3 separate regions of the Homo sapiens genome follow, and all the other regions are linked to region 1. The links are contacts of gene promoters, found by promoter capture Hi-C in human tissues and cell types (Jung and others, 2019). All regions are on one chromosome and are shown on one strand. The core of a region is centred on a gene start or on the middle of the fragment in contact, and the rest is flanking DNA. Distances in the headings are between cores, read along the strand shown. Region 1 holds the start of ZNF491 (zinc finger protein 491). Region 2 overlaps ZNF700 (zinc finger protein 700). Region 3 overlaps ZNF763 (zinc finger protein 763).

What was found. The method cuts DNA at HindIII sites, captures the fragments that hold promoters and counts their contacts. A contact is called where the count stands out against the background at its distance.
Region 2: a contact is called between a fragment that was not itself captured here and the fragment with the promoter of ZNF491 in region 1, in 8 of the 25 tissues and cell types used here (adrenal gland, aorta, bladder and 5 more).
Region 3: a contact is called between a fragment that was not itself captured here and the fragment with the promoter of ZNF491 in region 1, in 4 of the 25 tissues and cell types used here (bladder, lymphoblastoid cells, mesenchymal stem cells and 1 more).

Annotation. Positions count from the first base shown.
Region 1 is chr19:11,797,167-11,801,487 of GRCh38, reverse strand. It overlaps ZNF491 (zinc finger protein 491), which reads right to left and starts at 2,965. Exons shown (of 3, transcript NM_152356.4): 1 at 2,761-2,965. RefSeq lists enhancers at 2,704-2,863, 2,874-2,973, 3,199-3,710 and a silencer at 3,804-3,973. The HindIII fragment of the contact is 4,685 bases long and covers 1,309-4,321 here.
Region 2 is chr19:11,944,503-11,948,986 of GRCh38, reverse strand. It overlaps ZNF700 (zinc finger protein 700), which reads right to left. Exons shown (of 4, transcript NM_144566.3): 2 at 1,680-1,806; 3 at 1,413-1,473; 4 at 1-711. It also overlaps a transcript of ZNF69 not described here. Among named protein-coding and RNA genes, the nearest start is that of ZNF763, 18 kb to the left of the region's middle. The HindIII fragment of the contact is 4,250 bases long and covers 1-3,662 here.
Region 3 is chr19:11,979,076-11,983,595 of GRCh38, reverse strand. It overlaps ZNF763 (zinc finger protein 763), which reads right to left. Exons shown (of 4, transcript NM_001367172.2): 4 at 2,979-4,520. The coding sequence ends at 4,487. It also overlaps a transcript of ZNF69 not described here. Among named protein-coding and RNA genes, the nearest start is that of ZNF433-AS1, 6.3 kb to the left of the region's middle. The HindIII fragment of the contact is 4,224 bases long and covers 1-3,457 here.

The DNA.
Region 1 (4,321 bases), core at 1,716-4,215:
AGACAGGGTTTCACTATGTTGGCCAGGCTGGTCTTGAACTCCTGACCTCATGATCCACCCGCCTCAGCCTCCCAAAGTGCTGAGATTATAGGCATGAGCCACCACATCCAGCCAAGCAATGGATTTTAATGACATTTCTCCCAGACATACACAAATGGCCAACAAACACATGAAAAGATGATCAATGTCAAGAATCAGCCATGGAGTTTTACCCAATGTCATTTTGGGTAGTTACTGAATAGTTTCCTCTCATAAAAAATATTCATAAACAAAATATAATTTTTTTCTTTTTAAAATTTTATTTATTTATTTAATAGAGACGGGGTCTCTCTATGTTGCTGAGCTGGTCTTAAACTTCTGGACTCAAGTGATCCTCCCACCTCGGCCTGCCAAAGTGCTGGGATTACAGGTGTAAGCCAGCATGCCAAGCCCTAAAGTTTTTGTTTTTTTGAGGAAAATTTTCACCCTGTCTCCCAGGCTGGAGTGCAGTGGTGCCCTCAAGGCTCACTGCAGCCTTGGATCTTCGGGGCTCAAGCGATCCTCCCGCCTTAGTCTCCCGAGTATAGTAGCTGAGACTACAGGAATATGACACCATGCCCAGCTATTTTGTTTGGTTGTTTTCAGTAGAGATGAGATCTTGCTATGTTGCCCTGCCCACTCTGGTCTTGAACTCCTAGGCTCAAGCAATCCTCCCACCTGGGCCTCTGAAAGTGCTGGGATTACAGGAGTGAGTCACTGTGCCTGGACTAAAATTTTTAAAAAATGTTTTCTTTCCCGTGTCTCTACTAAAAATACAAAAATCTGCCGGGCATGTCGGCACATGCCTGTAATCCCAGCTACTTGGGAGGCTGAGGCAGGGGAATCGCTTGAACCCAGGAGGCCGAGGTTGCAGTGAGCCAAGATAGCACCATTGCACTCCAGCCTGGGCAACAGACACAGTGAGACTGTCTCAAAAAAAAAAAAAAAAAAAAAGTTTTCCTTATTTTCAGAGGTGTTGATAACATTTTTAAATAGTGCTATTCATTTGTCTGTGGAAAAATGATAAAATATGGCAGCTGTTTCAAATGTAGCATGGGAAACACATAATTGATAAGGATGTCAATTGGCGAGGGGAAGTTGGTGTTTTTGAATGTGAGGAGAAAACCAGAAATTTAGGGATTTACTGTCATACCTGGGAAGAACTAGGCTGGGAGAGGGGTCCCAAAAACTCCCTCTTTGATCAAACTAGTCAGGCTCCTCAGAGCCCCCCTCTTCTTGAGTAGACTTTGGCCTTTTCCTGCAGAGCCCTGTGGTAGCAAAAACCCTTCTAAGGGAGTTTAGAGAAAATTCCCCCAAACCTGATATCCAATCAAGTCCCTTTTCCCTACGTTTGACAATCTCTTCCCTAATTCTTGACACTAAACCAACTTCCATCCTCTCCCTCACCTTGCCTATTAGCTGTAAATTCAATACTGTCGTTGATGCAGCCTTCACCTCCTGGGCTCAAGCAATTCTCCTGCCTCAGCCTCCAGACTAACTACAGAAGCGGCCATCATACCTGACTAATTTTTTTTTTTTTTAACAGAGTCTCGCTCTGTCGCCAGGCTGGAGTGCAGTGGCACCATCTCGGCTCACGCAACCTCCGCCTCCTGCGTTCAAGCGATTGTCTTGCCTCAGCCTCCCGAGTAGCCGGATTACAGGCACGTGCCACCACGCCCAGCTAATTTTTGTATTTTTGGTAGAGTCGGGGTTTCACCATGTTGGCCAGGATGGTCTCGAATTCCTGACCTCGTCATCCGCCCGCCTCGGCCTCCCAAAGTGCTGGGATTGTAGACGTGAGCCACCGCGCCCGGCCATACCCGACTAATTTTTTAAAATATTTTGTACAGACGGGGTCTCGCCATGTTGTCCACGCTGGCATCACCTTGCCTTACGCTGGAATGTTAAATATACTCTTTTAAATTGGAAAGGAAATGAAACCCAAATGTAAAGAAAAAAAAAAAAAAGCTCTATGGGGGCGGGGGGAGGGGGGCGGGCCAAACTCTGATTAAATTGTTGTGCCTCACAAACTAGCCTTGTATAAAAAACGTTGTAATCCTGTTAAATTTCTTGCCTATATAAGCAAGAACTTAAACTTTTAAATTTGAAACACTGAGCCCATTTCCGTGGATCCTGTGTTTTCCCAAATGGGCCATTCCCAGCTTCTTGCTTGAGTAAACTTTAAAAAACTGGAATCTGATTCTTTTATTTCAGGTTGACAAGTCCACATACGGCGACAGCATCACTGTAACTAATCAAGTATTTAATCCTGTTTGCCTCCTCATGCAACTTATAAAAGCCTTTTCTTCAATCACAAGCCATGACCGGGTGTTTCTCACTCGGAATCGCTGTTGCTCCAACAAACTCTTTAACTGTTAACAGAGCCTCAGTTTAATTTTTAGCAGAAGAAAGGCGGGACACATCCGACCCCCCATGACCCTCCCGTGGCCCCCGCACAATCTGGGAAGACGCCGGGCTGCGGGCGCGGAGCTGCCCAGAGAGGACTCCGGGGCCGGGGCCGCAGTCGCCGCGTAGGGACGGGACAGGACGCCCGGGGTCCCAGCTGCGGGCCCAGCCCCACCTGGCGGCCGAGCGGACCGAGGGCCAAGCCACGCCATGGGGGACGCGGGTCCCAATCGCCGGGGTCGCCCGAGCGGAGGCCTGGGTCCCGCCACAGCAGGATCCTGTTGGTTCCACCCAGCCCCTCTTCCACGTATCTGGACGCTAGGCCGGGCACTTTACCATTTCCCTGCTTCTTGGTGTCCCGGCGTCCTCTTTATGACTCCGGAGCAGGTCACAGCGCAGGTGACAGCGTCACAGGAGCCGTGGCGGAGGCACCTGGGGCCTCTCGGAGCAGCAAGGACTGGATGCAGAACGCAACGGACCCCAGCAACAAAGGAGTGCAGAGACTCTGAGTGCGGCCTTCTGCTTCCCCGGATTGACAGTTGGCAGGGCCCCGTCCCAGGGCCCCTGATTGGATGGGGTTCCAGGCTCCGCCCCTCAGCCCTGAGTGACAGGGTAAGCCCTGGGTAACGGAGCCCTGCAGAGCCCGGCTGATTAATCCTAGCTACAGCCTTTCTAAGGCTAAGCTCACTCCCTGCGCCCTGGTCGTTGGCTATCTGCATTTCAGCCAAACTTGCTACTTATTGTTAGAAGGGGCACTGTTAGCTTCCTCGATCTTTCAGAAATGTGTGCTGGGAATTCCAGACTCGGTGTTCAATGGAGTCATTCCTTTGCCTCATAGCAGGAAGGAAATCCAGGCCAGGCCAGGCCAGGCAAGACTGCACCAGGAGGGAGAGGCAGGTGTCCTCTACAGGGCGGGAATTGGGGATGAGACTTCCTCACACTCCCCCCGTCCCACCCCTGAATATGGAACCGCTTCCTCCCCCTAGACTTCATTTTCACCAGCAGAAGTTCTCACCTGGGGTCAGTTTAAGCTTCTAACCTAAGTAAACTATTACCTTCACAAACCCTTTCTCCAGGTGACATGTCAGACAAATCTTACTGAGCCTGATCTTCACAGATTATCTTTGTATGTACAAATTACAGTCTGTCGCCGGGACCCTTTGCACGTAAAAACCAAACACTGCCCCCGCAAAACGTCCCTAGGCTCTAGGTACAGCCCCAGTAAGGACAGAACCTCCCCCCAACCCCCCTACACAAAGTGCACCTGCACGTGAGTCTCCTGCTTTCCAGGGCTCTGTAGCTTCTCAGGATCCACATTCCTTCCGCAGCTGTTCTGAGCAGCTGGAGGCCACCTGCAGTAGAGGGCAGGCTGCCCGGGAAACACCCAGGGGAGCTCCCTTTCCCTCCCTTTGCCGGCTCCAGACTGGCCTCAGCAGGGTGTCACTGGCCTTAGGCTCTGCTGCCCCCTACAGGTTATTCACTTCATTGATCGGTTACCTGAGACAAACACCCTCAGTTCCACTGTACGTATGTATAAAGTGGGGAAGGAAAATTCTAAGATAATTGAAGTGAATTAAAAGACTTGCAGGCAGGGTGCGGGGGCTCACGCCTATAATCCCAACCCTTTTGGAGGCTGAAGCGGGAGGACTGCTTGAACCCAGGAGTTCATCATCCTGGAAAACGGAGCCACACCTCGTCTGTACTAAAAATTTAAAAATTAGCAGTGCGTGGTGTCCTGAACCTGTAGTCCCAGCTACTCGGGAGGCTGAGGTGGGAAGATCTTGAGCCCAGGAGTTTGAAGCTTCAGTGACCTATGATCTCGCCACTGTGCTTCAGCAAGAGTTGTGATAGTTGTATCAGATAAAATAGACTTTAAATAAAAAACAGTACAAAAAGA
Region 2 (4,484 bases), core at 288-2,787, 150 kb before region 1:
AGAGAACTGGTATATGCAAATGCTTTTCCACATTCTTTGCATTGATAAGGCTTCTCTCCCATGTGACTTCTTTCATGTCTATGATAGGAACTAGAACTATGAAATGCTTTATCACATTTGCTACATTCATAGGGCTTCTCCCCAGTGTGAGTTCTTTCATGTATTTGAAGGGTAGCAGAATAAGTAAAGGATTTACCACATTGTTTACATTCATATGGTTTCTCTCCAGTGTGAGTTCTTTCATGGATAAGATATAAACTGAAAGAATGGAAGGCTTTCCCACAAAATTTACATTTATAAGTTCCATCCCCACTGTGCATTACCATGTGTCTTCGAATGCTTGAATGGAAAATAAAGGTTTTTCCACAGACTTTACAAGCATAGGGTTTCTCTCCAGTGTGATCCCTTTCTTGTGTTCTAATGGATGGGCGATACCTGAAGGCTTTCTTATTTTTAGGTTGTTGACACTTATATGGCTTTGGTCCATATTCCTGATACTCATATGCCTTGTGTCCAGTGTCACCTCTGATGCTCATATTAAAAGATGAGTTACCTATGCCAACTTCTGCACACACAAAGCTGTCACATGATTTTACTTCAGGAGAAGCTTTCTTCTCCTGGAAGTTCAGTCTGTCATCTGGAACCTGGGTAAAAGTTTCTCCACAATGACTGTCTTCTTTAATTTCATTGACTTTCTCTTCTATGAGACTCCTGTAAAACATGAGAAACACATCATGAAGGGTTTGTTTACAAGTACTTCTATATTAATCAACAAGTATTGCACTTGCATTTTTAACACTGTCCATCAAAGTGTAGGCTTTCTGCCCTGTCTGAATCGTTTGAAGGTGACTGGACATGTTCTACAAGATGACCCAGCCATACCTATTGTTTAAAAAAATATTCATAAGGGGCTTCTTAATAGTATTCCCATGTAAACTATTTTACAATTACTAAATACTGTATGTCATTTTTCTTTTGAGTCCAGTTCTTGTCCTGTTGCCCATGCTGGAGTACAGTGATATCATCATAGCTTACTGCAGCCTTTAACTCCTGAAGTCTCGAGTGATCCTCCTGCCTTCGCCTCCTGAGTAGCTGGGACTACCGATGCATACACACCACAATGCCCAGCTAATTTTTTGCTGTTGTTGATATGTGGTCTCGTTATGTTGCACAGGCTGTTCTGGAACTGATGGCCTCAAGCTATCCTCCTATCTCCACTTCTCAAAGGACTGGGATTACAGGAGTGAGCCCTCAGCCTCAGTCACGTTTAAATATATGTTTTTTGAGAAAATATTCTAAGAAGAAATGAATTTGATGCTGGATTTAGTTCTTTGTTTTACTTCTCTTCAACATATTCTCATATTCTAAGATTGTGCAGAGAGACACTGCTTTCTCTTGGAAATGCAAATTACCTGAAGCTTCTTCTGGGGTTTTGGTACTCATATTCAATGTTCTGGTCACTCCATTTTTTTCCTAAAATACAGACACAGAAAAATAGTCCTGAAGCAGTATAAAATTGTGAAAAAATTATTAGATTCTGTGCCCATGATTTACTGCAGCCATGCCTCATTTATTCATCAAGGTATTTCCTGTCTATGTTCAAAATCACTCAACAGCATTCATGAGCTAGAAACACTGGTTTGCTAATGCACTGACGGAAGGAATATTGTCATCCTTACCTATAGAGGTCAGGTTCCTGAAAGTTTCCAGCATCACTTCCCTGAAGAGATTCTTCTGGGAAATATCCAGCAATGTCCACTCTTCCTGGGTGAAGTTCACAGCCACATCCTCAAAGGCCACTGGGTCCTGAAACATCTCACATGTGTAGAGGAAGATGGGTGAGAGTGACAGCACTGGAGGCCTAGACTCTATTCCCAAGAAGTTCTCAGGATGCTGTGGACTCCAAACATTTATTCCCTGCTTCGGTTATCAGATCCCTTTCTCTCCATCTATACTTACTTTCTTCCATAAAGCAATTTATTTATTTATTTATTTTTTGAGACAGAGTTTCACTCTTGTTGCCCAGGCTGGAGTACAATGGCGTGATATTGGCTCACCACCGGGGTTCAAGCGATTCTCCTGCCTCAGCCTCCCGAGTAGCTGGGATTATAGGCATGTACCACCACGCGTGAGTGACCTTTACCCTTTCCCTCTTGTAGTGTGAGTGTTGTCTTGTCTCGAAAGAAAAATGGGTCAGACACAAAGTAAGCCCACCCCACTAGGAACTATGTTATAAAAAATTTCAAAAAGGGATTTAAGGGAGACTATGGAGTTACTATAACACCAGGAAAACTTAGAACTTTGTGTGAGACAGACTGGCCAGCATTAGAGGTGGGTTGGCCATCAGAAGGAAGCCTGGATAGGTCCCTTATTTCAAAGGTATGGCACAAGATTACCTGTAAGCCAGGGTATCCAGACAAGTTCCTGTACACAGACACTTAGTTACAGCTGGTTTTAGACCCCCCACAGTGGTTGAGAGGACAGGCAGCAGCAGTGTTAGTGGCAAAGGGACAGATAGCCAATGAGGGATCTCTCCCCACCCGCCAAGGGAAGTCAGCTCCTAAAGTTCTATCTGACCCAATGTCAGAGGACCCATGGCAGGAAATGGCACAGCAATGCCCCCCGTCCTTACCTAGAAGAGAGACTCCCCACTCCTGAGCCCACAGCACCTGTGCCTCCTCTGGACAGATACACCCCTAGACCACCCAGAACAGACAAGAGAGAATGTGAAGCTGCGGGAGAAACCCCTCCCTTGGCAGCTCATTTACGATCTAAGACTGGAAAGACAAGTGCCCCCAGTTAAAGAAGAAACAAAATGGCTCCAAGCCAGAGGTCTCAGGCAAGGATGAAAGGGCCTTGTTTAATCTGGCAGAAGGGCTACTGGACTAAGGGGGACCAGGCTCAGGTGCCCCTAACGAGCCCATGGTCAGGATGACAGTCAGGGACAAGGACATAGAGTTTCTTGTCGATACTGGTGCTGAATATTCAGTAGTAACCACCCCGGTCACCCCCTTATCCAAAAAGACTATTGATATAATCGAAGCCACACGAGTCTCGGCAAAACAAGCTTTCTGCTTGCCCTGCACTTGTACTATAGGGGTACATGAAGTAATCCACCAGTTCTTGTACATGCCCGACTTCTCCTTGCCCTTGCTGGGAAGGGACTTGCTTAGCAAGCTGAGAGCCACCATCTCTCTTACAGAGCACAGCTCTTTTACAGCTAAAGTTACCCGGAAAGGGAGTCATCATGGCCCTTACTGTCCCCCAGGAGGAGGAATGAAGACTTTTCTTAACCGAGCCAGGTCAAGAGATAAGACCAGCTCTGGCTAAGTGATGGTCAAAGGTGTGGGCAGAAGACAACCCTCCAGGGCTGGCAGTCAACCAAACCCCCGTACCTACAGAAGTTAAGCCTGGGGCCCAGCCGGTCAGGCAAAAACAGTACCCGGTTCCCTAGAGAAGCTCTTGAAGGAATCCAGGTCCACCTCAAGCACTTGAGAGCCTTTGGAATTATAGTCCTTTGCCAGTCTCCATGGAACACTACCCTCCTGCCTGTTCCCAAGCCAGGGACCAAGAACTACAGGCCAGTACAGGACTTGTGCTTGGTCAATCAAGCTCAGAAAGAAAGCAGGTCATCTGCAGCCTATTGCAACCTAAAACCAGAAGGCAGGTGAGAGAATTCTTAGGAGCAGTAGGGTTCTGCAGACTGTGGATCCCAAACTTTGCAGTACTGGCCAAACCTCTATATGGGGTCACAAAGAGGGGTGCTGGGAACCTTTTGAATGGGAATCCCAACAACAGTGAGCCTTTCATGAGTTAAAGGAAAAACTTATGTCAGTCCCAGCCCTGGGGCTACCTAATCTAACAAAGCCTTTTACACTGTGTCAGAAAAAGAAAAAAAGGCAGTTGGAGTTCTAACCCAGACTGTGGGGCCCTGGCCAAGGCCAGTGGCCTACCTTGTACCCACTTATTCTAAAGAAGAAAAGGACTTTCTCCAGGCAGAGGGAGGACAGGTGATGGAAGAAGGATGGATGTGGTTACTGGATGGGAGAGTAGCTGTGCCACAGCTGCTGGGAGCCACAGTCATACTGGCTGTGCATAAAACCACCCATCTAGGCCAGGAGTCACTTCAAAAGTTGTTAAGCCGGTACTTCTACATCTCACATTTATCAGCCCTTGCTGAAACAGTGGCACAGCGATGTATTACCTGCCAACAACACAATGCAAGGCAGGGTCCAACCGTCCCGGCTGGCATACAAGCTTATGGAGCAGCCCCCTTTGAAGATCTGCAGGTAGACTTCACAGAAATGCCAAAATGTGAAGATAACAAGTATTTACTAGTTCTTGTGTGTACATACTCTGGGTGGGTGGAAGCTTATCCAACGCGAACTGAGAAAGCTGGTGAAGTAACCCGTGTGCTTCTTCAAGATCTTATTCCTAGGTTTGAACTGCCCTTACGAATTGGCTCAGATAACAGGCCAGCGTTT
Region 3 (4,520 bases), core at 96-2,595, 180 kb before region 1:
GTCTTTCCATTTTTTTCTTAAAATACAGATCCATAAAAAATAGTCCTGATTATAAAATTATGGGGTTTTTTTTGGAGATGAGGGTCTCACTCTATCACCCAGGCTGGAGTGCAATGGCATGATCACAGCTCACTGCAGCCTCAACCTCTTGGGTTCAGGTGATTCTCCTACTGCAGCCTCTCAAGTAGCTGGGATTACAGGTGCATGTCACCATCCTGGCTAAAAAGTTTGTAGAGATAGGGTTTCACCATGTTGCCCAGGCTGTTCTCAGACTCCTGGGTTCAAGTCATCCACCCACCTTGGCCTCTCAAAGTGCTAGAACCACAGGCATGAGCCACCATGCCCAGCTATTATAAAATTAGTTTAAAAATTATTAGATTCTATGTTCATGGCTCACTGCAGCCATTCCTGATTTATCAAAGTTTTCCCTGTCCATATTCCAAATCACTGAACAGCACTGAAGAGCTAGAAACACTTGTTCTTTAATAAACTGAGGGAAGTAATATTGTCACGTGATAGTTTGAATGTATGTTCCCACCCAATGTCATGAGGAACTGCAATCCCCAGTGTTGGAGGTGAGTCCTGATGGGAGTTGTTTGGGTCAGGGGGACCTATGGCTTGTTTCTCTCATGGCTTGTTGCTGTCTTTGTGATAATCAGTGAGTTCTAGTGAGCTGCACCTTCCTACACCACTCTCTCTGTCTCACTCCTGCTTTCGCCATGTGACTGCCTGCTCCCCGTTCACCTTCCGCTATGATTGAAAGCTTCCTGAGGCCTTCACCAGAAGCTGAGCAGATGCTGGTGCCATGCTTCCTTTACAGGCAGATGCCAGGCAGACGTCACTGTGAATCACTGTGCCCAGCAATGAATAATTCTTTACAAGGGGACAAACCCTGTCTGGACATGGTGACTCATGCCTGGAATCCTAGCACTTTGGGAGACTGAGCTGTGAGGACTGCTTGAGACAAAGAATTAGAGAACAGCCTGGGCAACACAGCATAATCCTGACTCTATTACTTAAAATTCTAAATAAAAGTCTGAAAAGCAGCATTTCCCACCTATTCTCTCTGAGGGAGCCTTCATCTACATAACAAGGTCTCCTTTGCTAGCCAAGCTTCTTCCTTTCCTTTAGCATAATCTGTCTTGCCATTAAAAATGACTTCCCCACCAAACCTGGAATTTTTTTGGCCATGCCAAGTCTGCATTTTTCCTGGCCTCAGAATGGTATGTAAGCTTTTTTGTCTTATTGTTGGGTGGGTCCTCATTCTGAAGGCTCCCATATATACATGTTAAATAAATTTGTATGACTTTTCTCCTATTAATTCGCCTAAGTTCCTTGATCTGAAAATTTTTTTCCTGTTTTCTCACCTTATTTTATTAAAAAAAGTTCAAAAACAAGCATATCTAAAAATGAGCATTTTCATATCCCAGAAATCAAGGTATTTTCCATAGATAACCAGAAAATGCTATTTAGTAATTGCCTAACATCAACACAGAGTGATATTAAAACCTTATTGTGTAAAGTGGAATTCTGGAAGCTTAGCTTTGAATACATTTCATTTTGTCTGTGAAACATTGAAGAGTGTGTGTGGTGTTATGATATGTATTGGTTTTCATCCAGGGTAATAATGTTGGGTGTGTTAGACCTCTGGGGAAGGCCCCTGACCTGCTGCCCTCTTTCCACTCTAATGTTTCCCCACCTTTTTGATTGTGGGTCTTAAAACCCTCCCATGAGAGGGTCCCACTGACTTCATGAAGACTTTTAGCCTTGGAAATACTCGTGATATTCCCTATCTGTAGCTGTGTGTCTGAAGTTAGCTCAGAATAAACCACAAGTGTGTAGATTGCTAAAATAACTTACTTCTAAACACTGAAACTCAAAAACTGCAGATTTCTTTGTCTAAGCAGATGCAGAAAAGCAGAAGTTATAAAGCATCCGGACTCAAACAGGCACCATCACTGCCTTCTAAAATTAGTAGCCTTCCTGGCATATGAACACCCTTTGGGCCTGTGCTCCAGTGTCTCTTTGGGTTGGTCCTTGGGCTTTTTGTGAAACATCAAGACACCTCCATAGTCTAGGCCAATGTCAGGCTCTCCAGTGTGTCCTGTTCATCACCCTCACCCTGCACTTTCATTGTCACTGTCATTGGCCATTCCAACATTGTGCTTGCATCCTGTGGAAAGTCACATTTGGGGTCAAGTGGATGGTGTTGTTTCTACTGTTTGGTTAAAAGTGTCAGGGTGTATTTGGCCTTCAAGGGAGGATAAGGCAGGGGTTGGATTCAGGTGCACCCAACTCTTGTTTTTTTCATTTTGAGACAGAGTCTTGCTCTGTCGACTAGGTTGGAGAGTGCAATGGTGTGATCTCAGTTCAGTGTAACAACCACCTCCCAGGCTCAAGCGATTCTCCTGCCTCAGCCTCCTGAGTATCTGGGATTACAGGGATTACACCACGATGCCCAGCTAATTTATCTATTTCTTAAGGTTTCACCATGTTGGCCAGGCTGGTCTTGAACTCCTGACCTCAAGTGATCCACTCTCCTTGGCCTCCCAAAGTGCTAAGATTACAGGTGTGAGCCACCGTACCTGCTCAGGTGCCCCCACCTCTGTCACTGCCCTGTCTTCCCTGCTGTGAATCATGCTGTGTGATCTGACAATCAATGATTCCACCCTTCACTGATGTGGATACATTATCTGGGACTGGGTATGTCATCTCCACACACAGACAGGGTTTGGTCAGTGATTGATGCTGCATCCCGTGATGCCTGGACTTTGACCTTAGGGAGTTTTAAATAAGCGTTTCTGAAGAGCAGCTTCATTGGAACCTTAATGAAAATGAATTTTTCCATGCCATTGCATAACATATAAAAGTGACTTTTCCATGTTGCCATTAACTTTACATGGCTGAAATAAACAGGCTGTTGACAAGTTAGTATCAACAGCACATTATCAGAGAAAGAAAAGGCTGTATTTAGACAATTTACATTATTATTGTAATTTATTAGCTTCCTGTGACTCACTAAACCAACCTGAAAAAAATAGCTTTCTAAGGTATAAATGAATTTCTATGTTTTACCCAACGTACTTTCTGGTAAACAGCACCCATACATTTTATGAAATATTTTAGTCTTTAGAGAATAAGGCAAAAACAGCTCCAGGAGTCTAGAGCTGACATCCCCTCACCACAAGGCCAAGTCTTTTTTTTTTTTTTTTTTGAGACGGAGTTTTGCTCCTGTTGCCCAGGCTAGAGTGCAATGGCACAATCTTGGCTCACTGCAACCTCTGCCCCCCAGATTCAAGCGATTCTCCTGTGCCAGCCTCCCAACTAGCTAGGATTACAGAAGCAGGCCACCACGCCTGGCCAATTTTTGTAGTTTTAGTAGAGACAGGGGTTTCATCATATTGATCAGGCCAGTCTTGAACTCCTGACCTCAGGTGATTCACCTGCTTTGGTTTCTATCCAGTGTGAGTCCTACCATGTTTTCGAAGGTGTGAGGTAGATCTGAAGGTTTTTCCACATTGCTTACACTCATAGGGTTTCTCTCCAGTGTGAGTCCTTTCATGTTATCGAAAAGAAGTGAAAGAAATAAAGGCTTTCCCACATTGCTTACACTCATAGGGTTTCTCTCCAGTGTAAGATTTTTCAGGTATTTGAAATGACTTGGCAGAATAAAAGCCTTTCCCACATATCTTACATTTATAAGGTCTTTCTACAGAGTGCATTCTTACGTGTGTTTGTGTCCTTTCATGAATTCGAAGGTTCTTGGCAGATCTGAAGGCTTTCCCACATTCCTTACACTCATAGGGTTTCTCTCCAGTGTGAGTTCTACCATGGATTCGAAGGTGTGGGGCAGATCTGAAGGCTTTCCCACATTGCTTACACTCGTAGGGCTTCTCTTCAGGGTGAGTCCCAGCATGCATTTGAAGGATTGAGGCAGATCTGAAGGCTTTCCCACATTGCTTACACTCATAGGGTTTCTCTCCAGTGTGAGTCCTTTCATGGTACCAAAAGGAACTGGAACTACTGAAGGCTTTACCACATTGCTTGCATTCATAGGGTTTCTCTGCAGTGTGAGTTTTTTCATGTCTTTGAAATGACGTGGGAGAATAAAAGCCTTTCCCACATGTCTTACATTTATAAGGTCTTTCTCCAGAGTGTATTCTTATGTGTGTTTGTGTCCTTTCATGAATTTGAAGGTGTGAGGCAGATCTGAAGGCTTTCCCACATTCCTTACACTCATAGGGTTTCTCTCCAGTGAGTCCTACCATGCCTTCGAAGGTGTGGGGCACATCTGAAGGCTTTCCCACATTGCTTACACTCATAGGGTTTCTCTCCAGTGTGAGTCCTTTCATGATACTGAAAGGAACTGGAAAGATTGAAGGCTTTACCACATGGCATGCATTTATAGGGTTTCTCTCCAGTGTGAGTTTTTTCATGTCTTCGAAATGACTTGGCAGAATAAAGGCCTTTCCCACATATCTAACATTTATAAGGTCTTTCTCCAGAGCGCATTCTTAGGT